Regions from separate parts of the Homo sapiens genome. Here regions 1 and 3 are each linked to region 2. Evidence: promoter capture Hi-C in 16 types of primary human blood cells and fetal thymus (Javierre and others, 2016). All regions are on one chromosome and are shown on one strand. Each heading gives the region's core, a stretch centred on a gene start or on the middle of the fragment in contact. The rest is flanking DNA. Distances are from core to core; before and after follow the strand shown.

Region 1 (2,700 bases), core at 131-2,630, 570 kb before region 2:
ATCAGAGTCATATTTTAACTTTCTTAGCAAGTTTTGGCCTAACTTGATGTATAATAGTGGAAAAATTTGGAATTTATTCAAAAAAGTTTAAGACCAGAACAAGATAAATGGCCTTGAATCTTTATGAAATTGAAGGGAAAATTATTAAACATAATTGAAGTACATTTTTAACATTGAGGACATGGCAGATTAGTTGTAAAGAAGGCATTGCATGATCACTTTGATAGATGCCAACCCAGAAAAGTCATACTGGATTACATTCAACATCCATTCCTCCTGGAAAGTTTTAGTACACTCAGAATAGATCCAAGCTTAGATAAGCATCATACTTTCAAAAGTTAAAAATGATAAGCATTCTTATTAATGGTGGGGAAAAGATAGTATCTTCTATATTGATAATAAAGCTCTCTAATTAAACTTTGTTATGAAGTTATTTTTTCAAGTGAATAATACAATAATTAATACGATCCCAGAGAATTGACACACACACACACAAACAAATCAAAATAACAAGAATTTAGTAAAATAAGTGGTTACAAAGTAAACATTTAAGACTCAGTACTTTAAAAATTAAAAAGAAAATATATGATCACCTAAATAGATACAGAAAGTGTAGTTAATAAAATGTAGAACCATTCATTTAGGAAAAAAATAGAAATAGAAAAGAATGTCATTAACGTATAGCTAAAAACCTACAGAAAACATTACGCTTAACAGTAAACATTGAAAGTTTTTCCTTTGTAATCAGGAACACACCAAAAATGGTTGCTATCACCACTTCCATTTAATATTGAAGTGGAAGTTTCTTAGCAGTGCAGAGTGACAAAAACAGCCACTACCATTATTTGCAGGTTACATGACTGTGTACATACAAATTTCAAAAGAATATGCATATGTTGTTAGAATTAATAAGAGTTAAAGATCTACTCATATATTATCAAATATGAATTAAAAGTTAGTACAAGATAGCATTTATGCCATACAAAATATGCCAAACCAAAGAATAACTCCAACAAAAAATATGCAAGACCAAACTAAATAGAACGATATACCACATTCGTGAACTGAATGTCTTAATACTACAGAGATGTTAATATTCTCCAAATTGATTTCTAATTTACATACAGTACATTCAAAATCCTTACCTATTGGTTTTGTGTGTGGGTGAACTTGATAAGCTAATTCTAAAATATATTTAGGAGGCCAAAGGGCCTAGAATAGTGAAGAGCCCCCTAAAGAAAATGAGGTAAAATAATCATTCTTCTGGATTTCAAGATGTACTATAAAGTTCCAGCTATTTAGGATAGTATAATACTGACACAGAGATAGACAAAGAGATAAATGCAACAAAACGAGGAGGCCAGAAACAGTCTTGTGTATATACAGACCCTTGGTTTTGGACAAAGTTAAACAGTAAAGAAAAAAATGTCTTTGCAAGTTAAAAAATTGTTACATTAAACATTGTTCATCCCTATTTGGAGAAACCATATAGCCATTTAAAAATATGATTTAATGCTATGTTCTGAATTAGAAAGATTGTTCAGTCATTCAACAAATATTTTTGGATCACTTACTATGTACCAGTTACTATTAATTTTTCCCTGTAAAATATATTATTAAGTTAACAAAAACAAATTGCAACATTACATACAATTGTGATTCTTCTCTAACTCTCATCTCACACAAAGTCAAAGTTCTTATGCAATTGTGCCCTTTAGGTCTTTGATTCCCTTCTTTCTCTACTGACTTTGTGTCAGCCACACTGCTGCTCATTAAACACTCTAGTCATTCATCTGCCTCTGAGCTTGTGGACTAGCTGTTGCTTCTGCCTAAAATGCATTTCATCAGAATTCCCATGGCCTACTTTCATGGCAAGTTAAGGTCTTTGTCAAATCATTCAGCTCATCTTTCAGTGAGATGAGCACTTTTCAGTGGGCATCCTATTTAAAACTGTAAAGCTATTATCTACCCCCATACTTCCTCTCCTTATTTCCTATTTTCTTTTATAATACATATTACTTTATCAAATTCTATATTTTTACTTGATTAATTACCATCAGAATTTTAGATTATACAAACTCTAAAAGGGCGAAAAACTTCCATCTCTTCTGTTCATTGCTAAATCCCATCACCAGAATAGTACCTGGCATACAATAGGAATAAGGACAATGTGTGTGTCTATGTGTTTGCATGTCTGTATGTTTGCATGTCTCTGTGTTTGCACAAATATATAGAGAAAGTTCAAAAAAGAATGATGTCAAACTGCTTACAGTGGTTATTTCTGGGGAGGAGCACTGGCCTCCTGTGGAGAAAAGAAAAAGGGAACCTTCCACATTTTACTTTATATTTTCCTGTGTTGCTTGAATTATATATGCTAAAATGCCAAGTTTTTAAATGTCCCTAAATCTCTTACATACAACAGGCAAATCAACCAGGATAGCAAAATCCAAAAGCTTGGACAACATTTATGACAAAACTAGGCAACAAGGTATACCCTAAGAACCATACAATAAAAGCAGGTGGAGGCAAACCATTAAATTACAAGATTTGTGTCGTATGAGCATTTGGACAGAAGGAAGCTAAGGGAAACCACAGGTACTCTGGCTGACCTGAGAGCAGTACTCCAAAAGAGTCAACAGTTATTTGTTGGAAGCTGAGCAGGCTAATTTGAGAAAAGCAGTTGAAATTGGAAGTACTTTT
Region 2 (2,950 bases), core at 151-2,650:
ATTAGACAATTATTAGTGTTTCATTTCAGGGAATATGGAGGCCCAAGATGAAGCAGAGAGACAGAGGAACAGCTGGTTGGTGGAGCAGTCAGAACACACACATTTATTAAGTCCCTGTCTTACATGGGCTCAGTTCATGGTGCCCTCAAAACAATTTCAACAGTAACATCAAAGATCACTGATTACAGATCACTATAACAGGTACAATAATGAAAAAGTTTGAAAGATTGCAAGAATTACCAAAATGTGCCACAGAGACATGTAGTGAGCAAATGCTGTTGAAAAACGGTGCTAGGACTTGCTTAATGCAGAGTTGCCACAAACCTTCAATTTGTAAGATGTGAAAGATCTGCAAACAGCAATAAAGTGAATCGCAGTAAAACAAAGTGGGCTTGTACAGCAAGGAGGTTATACAAATATACTTTTGAAATCCTACAGCCAGTTTGAATCCAGGCTTTGGCAGTTATTACTATGACTGGGCAAACTACTGTGTTTTTAAACTTCATTTTTCCTATCTGTAAAATGGGGATTTTTTATAGATTGTGTGTGTGTGTGTATATATACACACACACACACACATATATATATATACACACATATATATATAGTTGTTGTGAAGATTTAAAAATGTACACCGTCACAAGGACTCCATAAAATAAGCTATTATTGTAATCTATTGGAGACAGGGCAAGTAAAAATCCACACTGATGTTAAGTGAATCTTTAAAAACAAGTACCAGAAAAAGACGAGTTTTTATTTTATAAGATATGACCTAAGGGGCCTAGGAAGAGAAAAAACTTGTTTTGTCAAGTCTAAATCCACTCATATTTCATGGGGCCACGTATCACGTCCAACCTTTGATATCTGGCACACAACAAACAAACAGGAAAGGCCTTTCGTGTGCTTTAATAAAAACAGCTTTCCATTTTAAAACGATAAATATATTGGAAAAATCTGTTGGCTCTCCAACAGCTCTTATAAAACAAAGCTCAGACGCTGTGTTTTTGTTGTTTGAAAGAGAGAAATCAGGGGCTTGGGCATTATTAGGCTCCCTTTGATCGCGCCCTGGGATGGGAAGCCTTCGGGCAAAGCCCTGGGGGCAGGACGCGTTTTTTTTTTTTTTTTTTTTTTTTTTTAATCGATCCCGGAACCTTCGCGCGGCGGAGGGGGCGGGCGCGCCGCAGGGGCCCGAGGGAGGGGTCTGGGGCGCGGCGCCGCTTGCCCATCCCCCGAGCGCGCGGCGGGGCGGCCGGCCGGCGGCCGCCGGGATGCGGAGGGGCGGCGACGGGGGCCGGACCCTGCCGGGGCGGCGGGGCGGGCACCGCCCGAGGGGGTAGGGCGCGCGCGGGGGCGCGCCGGGCCGGGGAGGCGCGCTCGCTCCGCGCTCCCTTCGCTCGCTCGTTCCCTCCTCCCTCGGCAGCCGCGGCGGCAGCAGGAGAAGGCGGCGGCGGCGGCTAGGGATCAGACATGGCGGCGGATCTGAACCTGGAGTGGATCTCCCTGCCCCGGTCCTGGACTTACGGGATCACCAGGGGCGGCCGAGTCTTCTTCATCAAGTAAAGAGCCGGGGACGGCACGGGGGCCCGCGGGGGCGGGAGGGCAGGAGGCGGGCGGCTGGCGACACGGGGGAGAGCCCGGGTCTGTGCTCCTGCAGCCCCTCGGCTCGCCCCCGCGTCCCCTCTCACGCTCCGTGTCTGCCCCTTCTCTCACCCCTGCAGCGAGGAGGCCAAGAGCACCACCTGGCTGCACCCCGTCACCGGCGAGGCGGTGGTCACCGGACACCGGCGGCAGAGCACAGGTAACGCCGGGCCCAAACGGAGTTGGGCTCCGCCTGGAGGAGGCGGCAGAGCCCGGGCCGCCCGGCTCCCCGCAACCTGCCCCGCGCCGCGGGCCCCGGGAGGCGGCGAGGCGGGGCGGAGGCCGGGCGGGAGCGGCCGCAGGTAGAGGGGCCACGGGGACTCCGCCGCCGGGAGTTCTCTCCAGTCTCGGGGCGCCTCTTTCTCCTCAGCCTTTCATCAGCACTTGGAGACGGCGCCCTCTTCCTGCGCCTTCTCCCCCCATCCCAGCCTAGACGACCCTCGCGACCCTAGAGTGGCGACGCTCCCCTCCCTGAAACCTGGAGTCCTGAGTTTTTCCTCCGCGGCCGCTACTCACTCCCCGGTGACCCCCAGCTGCCGTCTTGCCCCCCAGCAATCTTCAGGCAGTCCTTACCCACTCCCCTCCCTGCAGCCCCGGACCCCGATCGCCCGCCGGGATAACGTAACCACATCCTCCCCCTCCTCCCAGGAGCGCTGCCTCCTGCCGTGCAGCTTCCTCCTCCTAGGTGGGACTTGTGGGTAGGTGGCTGATGAAGGAGGAGGAGGAGGAGGAGAGGAGTTCGGGGGTGCTGCGATCCTCTCTGTGACAGGGAACGGCTCGGGAAACGCTTGGCGCGTTCCCTCCTGCCACGGGAGGAGCAGCCGGAGCCGGAGGAGGCGTTCGCAGCCTCAGTTGCTGGCGATCCGGATCTAAAGTCCCCGCCAGCCGCACGGAGGTTGCACAGACTGCCAGGAGGCGGTGGGCGTGCGAGGGGGTGTCCCGTATGGGGGCACCCGGGCCCTGTTTGGAGGGAGTCCGTGGGGAAGCGGCTCTCTCGGGTGGCTTTGGGAGCTTGTTTGAATGCTAAGTGTGAGTGGAGCTGGAAAAGGCTCCTCGTAGTTTCTGTACTGGTCTGGGTTTCTTTTATCATTCTTTGTTTACATTCGTGACTTGTTTGTCTTTGAAATGTAACATGTGTTCTCTTACTGGCCTGCCTCTAGTCCTGGTGATTGGAAAGGCTTGAGAGCAGTTTGGGTCGAAGGCGAGGCCAGTTTCAGCAGTCCTCAGAGCTGGCCTCTGGGGTACATTCTCTCGGACTCTGACATTCCGTGAATCTGTTAAAGTTGCCAGGATATTGAACAAACCTGCCTCT
Region 3 (2,906 bases), core at 36-2,535, 700 kb before region 2:
TATGAAAAAAGAGAAATAAAACAGGAAGGAGTTTTCTTTAACTTTTAAGTCCAGGGTCACACGTGTAGGTTTGTTACATAGGTAAACATGTGTCATGGGGATTTATTGTGCAGATTATTTCATCACCCAGGTATTAAGCCTATGACCTATTAGTTATTGTTCCTGATCCTCTAAGGGGGGAGATTCAAAAGTGCCTACATCCCCTTAAAACAAATAAAAATTAAGAATCAGGCAACATGCACTAAGCATAAAATAATATTAATTATATTTAAAATATATCAGAGTTAAAAAATATAGCTCAAGCCAAGCATCATATTTAGGGAGTGACTGCTTCTGTGCAAAATGTTTGTGTTAAAACTTTAAAGATGCAGCTCCCATCTCACGATTCATGAAAAAAAAATACTCAAAATATCTTTCCTTAAAAAAAAGTCTTATTTAAAAAAAAAAAAAACTAGAAACCCATCAGTCATGAGTTTATGAGATTTTTTTTCACGTGGATGAATTACTGCTTCCTCAGATTCACCATATTCAAAACTGAACTAAATATCCTGTCTTGCTCACACAGGTCTTGAGGTCTTCCTTGTTTCTCACTAACATGACCAATTATTCACCAAGCCCTATAACTCTATATATCCTCAACAGCGCTCCCTGCTCCACAACTTCCACCTGTCACTATCAGTGATCAGAAAGTTGCCTCACCAGATACTGAGCTATGAATAAGTAAGATTGGAATGAAAACCATCTTGACTACTTGGCATCACTGTGGGTAGCCTTTCTGAGAGGTGAAATTGACTTAGGCTCACGTGAGTCTCTTCCACTGGAAGAGTGAATGTAGGATGAATAGCCCCTATTTTCCAAGGCAAGTGAGTTAACTAGAAGCTTTGTGTTTGAATTTAAAAGCTTTACCTCACAGTTTGCATCCTAAAAGGTGGCTATAAATGGGAACCATAACATTTGGAGCTTATGCCCAGGAGGCCCCTCCCCCATTATGTAACAATTAATTACAAAAGCTTAAATGTAGTGCCCCTTTCCATTTGGAATAGGAAACACTTTAACCACTAGTCAAGTATTGAGTTGAGTGGTGGCCCCAAAGAAGATATGTCCACAGCCTAACCTCAGAAACCTGTGATTTGTGAATGTGACCTTATGGAGAAAAAGGGTCTTTGACGATAGAATTTAATTAAAGATCTTGAGATTAGTTCCCCCTGGATTATCAGGGTGAGCCCTGAATCCAATGCCAAGTGACCTAAAGAGAGGCAGAAGAGGAGAAGACACACACAGAGAGAAGGTCATGAAAAGGGAGGCATTGATTGCAGCCTCAAGCCAAGGAATGCCTAGAGCTACCATAAGCTGGAAGAGGCAAGGAAGGTTCTCCCCGGAGCCTTGGGAGAGAGCACAGCCCTGCTTACACCCTGATTTTGGACTTCTGGCCTCCAGAACTGTGAGAATACATTTCTGTTATCACTAGTTTGTGTTAACTTGTTACGGCAGCCACAGGAAAATAATATAACAGACTTTATGAAGGCTCTGAGTCAATTGCCTAGGATGTCACATCATCAGGAAGCTTTCCCTGACCCTCTCCCAGCCACCATCTGGGATTGAGTATTGCTTCCACATCATGTCAAACAGCATACTGTTCATGACTCTGCCAGACATCATATCACACTCCCTTGACACCACTGCTGCCCTGTCCCTTCCCCCTCTTAGTCCACAGAGTAGCTCAAGACAGCAATCATGTCACACTCTTCCATGTACCAATCCAGCACAGTATCTGAAACTCAGTAGATACTCAAAAAATGTTTTAAAAATTATGAATCCACAGAAATGTCTGTAAGGCCATCAATATTTTCACACACAGTACTGGAAATTCCATGGTACTCAGGGAATATGAAATTGGGCACTGTCAAAGGCACTGCTGTGCGCCTCTACCTGGCTGCTGCACCCACTCCCATCTGCTGCAGTGACTGCTAACAAAATACGGCCCCTTCTCTGGAGAATTAGCCTCTGATTCCACAGCCCCCTGGCCTACGAAGTGGGAAAATCTCTAAGATATAATTTACATTCCAGAGCCTCCCCATAAATCAGATCAAGGTTAGACTTGACCCGAGATCTCATCCTTGTTAATTCCTTTCCCTTCCCTATAATTCTGCTCTTACTCCCTCATAAGATTTTTCCTGAAGAGCACTTCTTCAGTAAATCACAAACAGTGAAATTCTGCCTCATGTCCTGTTCTAGAGAACCTGACCTACAATAAGTATTTCTTATGGAAGATAAAAATTTAAATATGTGTTTTTAGAAACTGGAGCATCAGTATGCTATGGGATACATCGTAGGTAGAACAACAGTATTGCAGTCTTTCCCACTCCTCCTACCAAGTCTGATTGAACAAACTCCAAGAGAGAACCAATTGGAATGAAAAACTGTCTGGTAGGAAACCATATTATAACACAGCTCCTTTTATAAGGTGTCACTTAAGGCACCTAATGCAAAAATCTCTTCAAAATGTTCCTTTCAAAGTATGGGGATAACCTGAAGTGAGGCTCCCATTTGCAAGCTCTATCAATGTAAGGATCTTTTTTCTGCTTTATTCACTGATATATCACAAGTACCTAGAACAGTACTTGGCACTTTATAGACATTCAATAATTTACTATTCAATGTATGAATAGGATTAAGTTTCCTGGACTCAGCTGTGCACATGCAGACTTATGTCGATAGGGGGTGGAGGAGAGCTGCTTCAGAGGTCAACTAAGAGCTGGCCTGGCTAAAGCAATTCCAGGAGATTGACCTGATCAGAAACGAGGCAATGGATATCACTAGTGAAACCAAAACTGGAGAAGAGGGAGAATGTGAGCAGAAGTCCAGGACAAACCAAGACAGGAGTTAGGGCCTAAGAACAAGTTGAT

What was found. The method cuts DNA at HindIII sites, captures the fragments that hold promoters and counts their contacts. A CHiCAGO score of 5 or more calls a contact.
Region 1: a fragment that was not itself captured here is called in contact with the fragment with the promoter of PLEKHA5 in region 2 in 1 of 17 cell types (megakaryocytes); the score reaches 5.2 in megakaryocytes.
Region 3: a fragment that was not itself captured here is called in contact with the fragment with the promoter of PLEKHA5 in region 2 in 1 of 17 cell types (megakaryocytes); the score reaches 7.0 in megakaryocytes.

Annotation. Positions count from the first base shown.
Region 1 is chr12:18,556,827-18,559,526 of GRCh38, forward strand. All of the region lies in intron 26 of PIK3C2G (phosphatidylinositol-4-phosphate 3-kinase catalytic subunit type 2 gamma), which reads left to right. Among named protein-coding and RNA genes, the nearest start is that of PLCZ1, 180 kb to the right of the region's middle. The HindIII fragment of the contact is 2,142 bases long and covers 310-2,451 here.
Region 2 is chr12:19,128,333-19,131,282 of GRCh38, forward strand. It overlaps PLEKHA5 (pleckstrin homology domain containing A5), which reads left to right and starts at 1,401. Exons shown (of 32, transcript NM_001256470.2): 1 at 1,401-1,556; 2 at 1,719-1,798. The coding sequence starts at 1,468. The HindIII fragment of the contact is 7,873 bases long and covers 1-2,950 here.
Region 3 is chr12:18,427,899-18,430,804 of GRCh38, forward strand. All of the region lies in intron 18 of PIK3C2G (phosphatidylinositol-4-phosphate 3-kinase catalytic subunit type 2 gamma), which reads left to right. All of the region lies in intron 2 of LOC124902891 (a long non-coding RNA gene), which reads right to left. Among named protein-coding and RNA genes, the nearest start is that of PIK3C2G, 170 kb to the left of the region's middle. The HindIII fragment of the contact is 554 bases long and covers 1,009-1,562 here.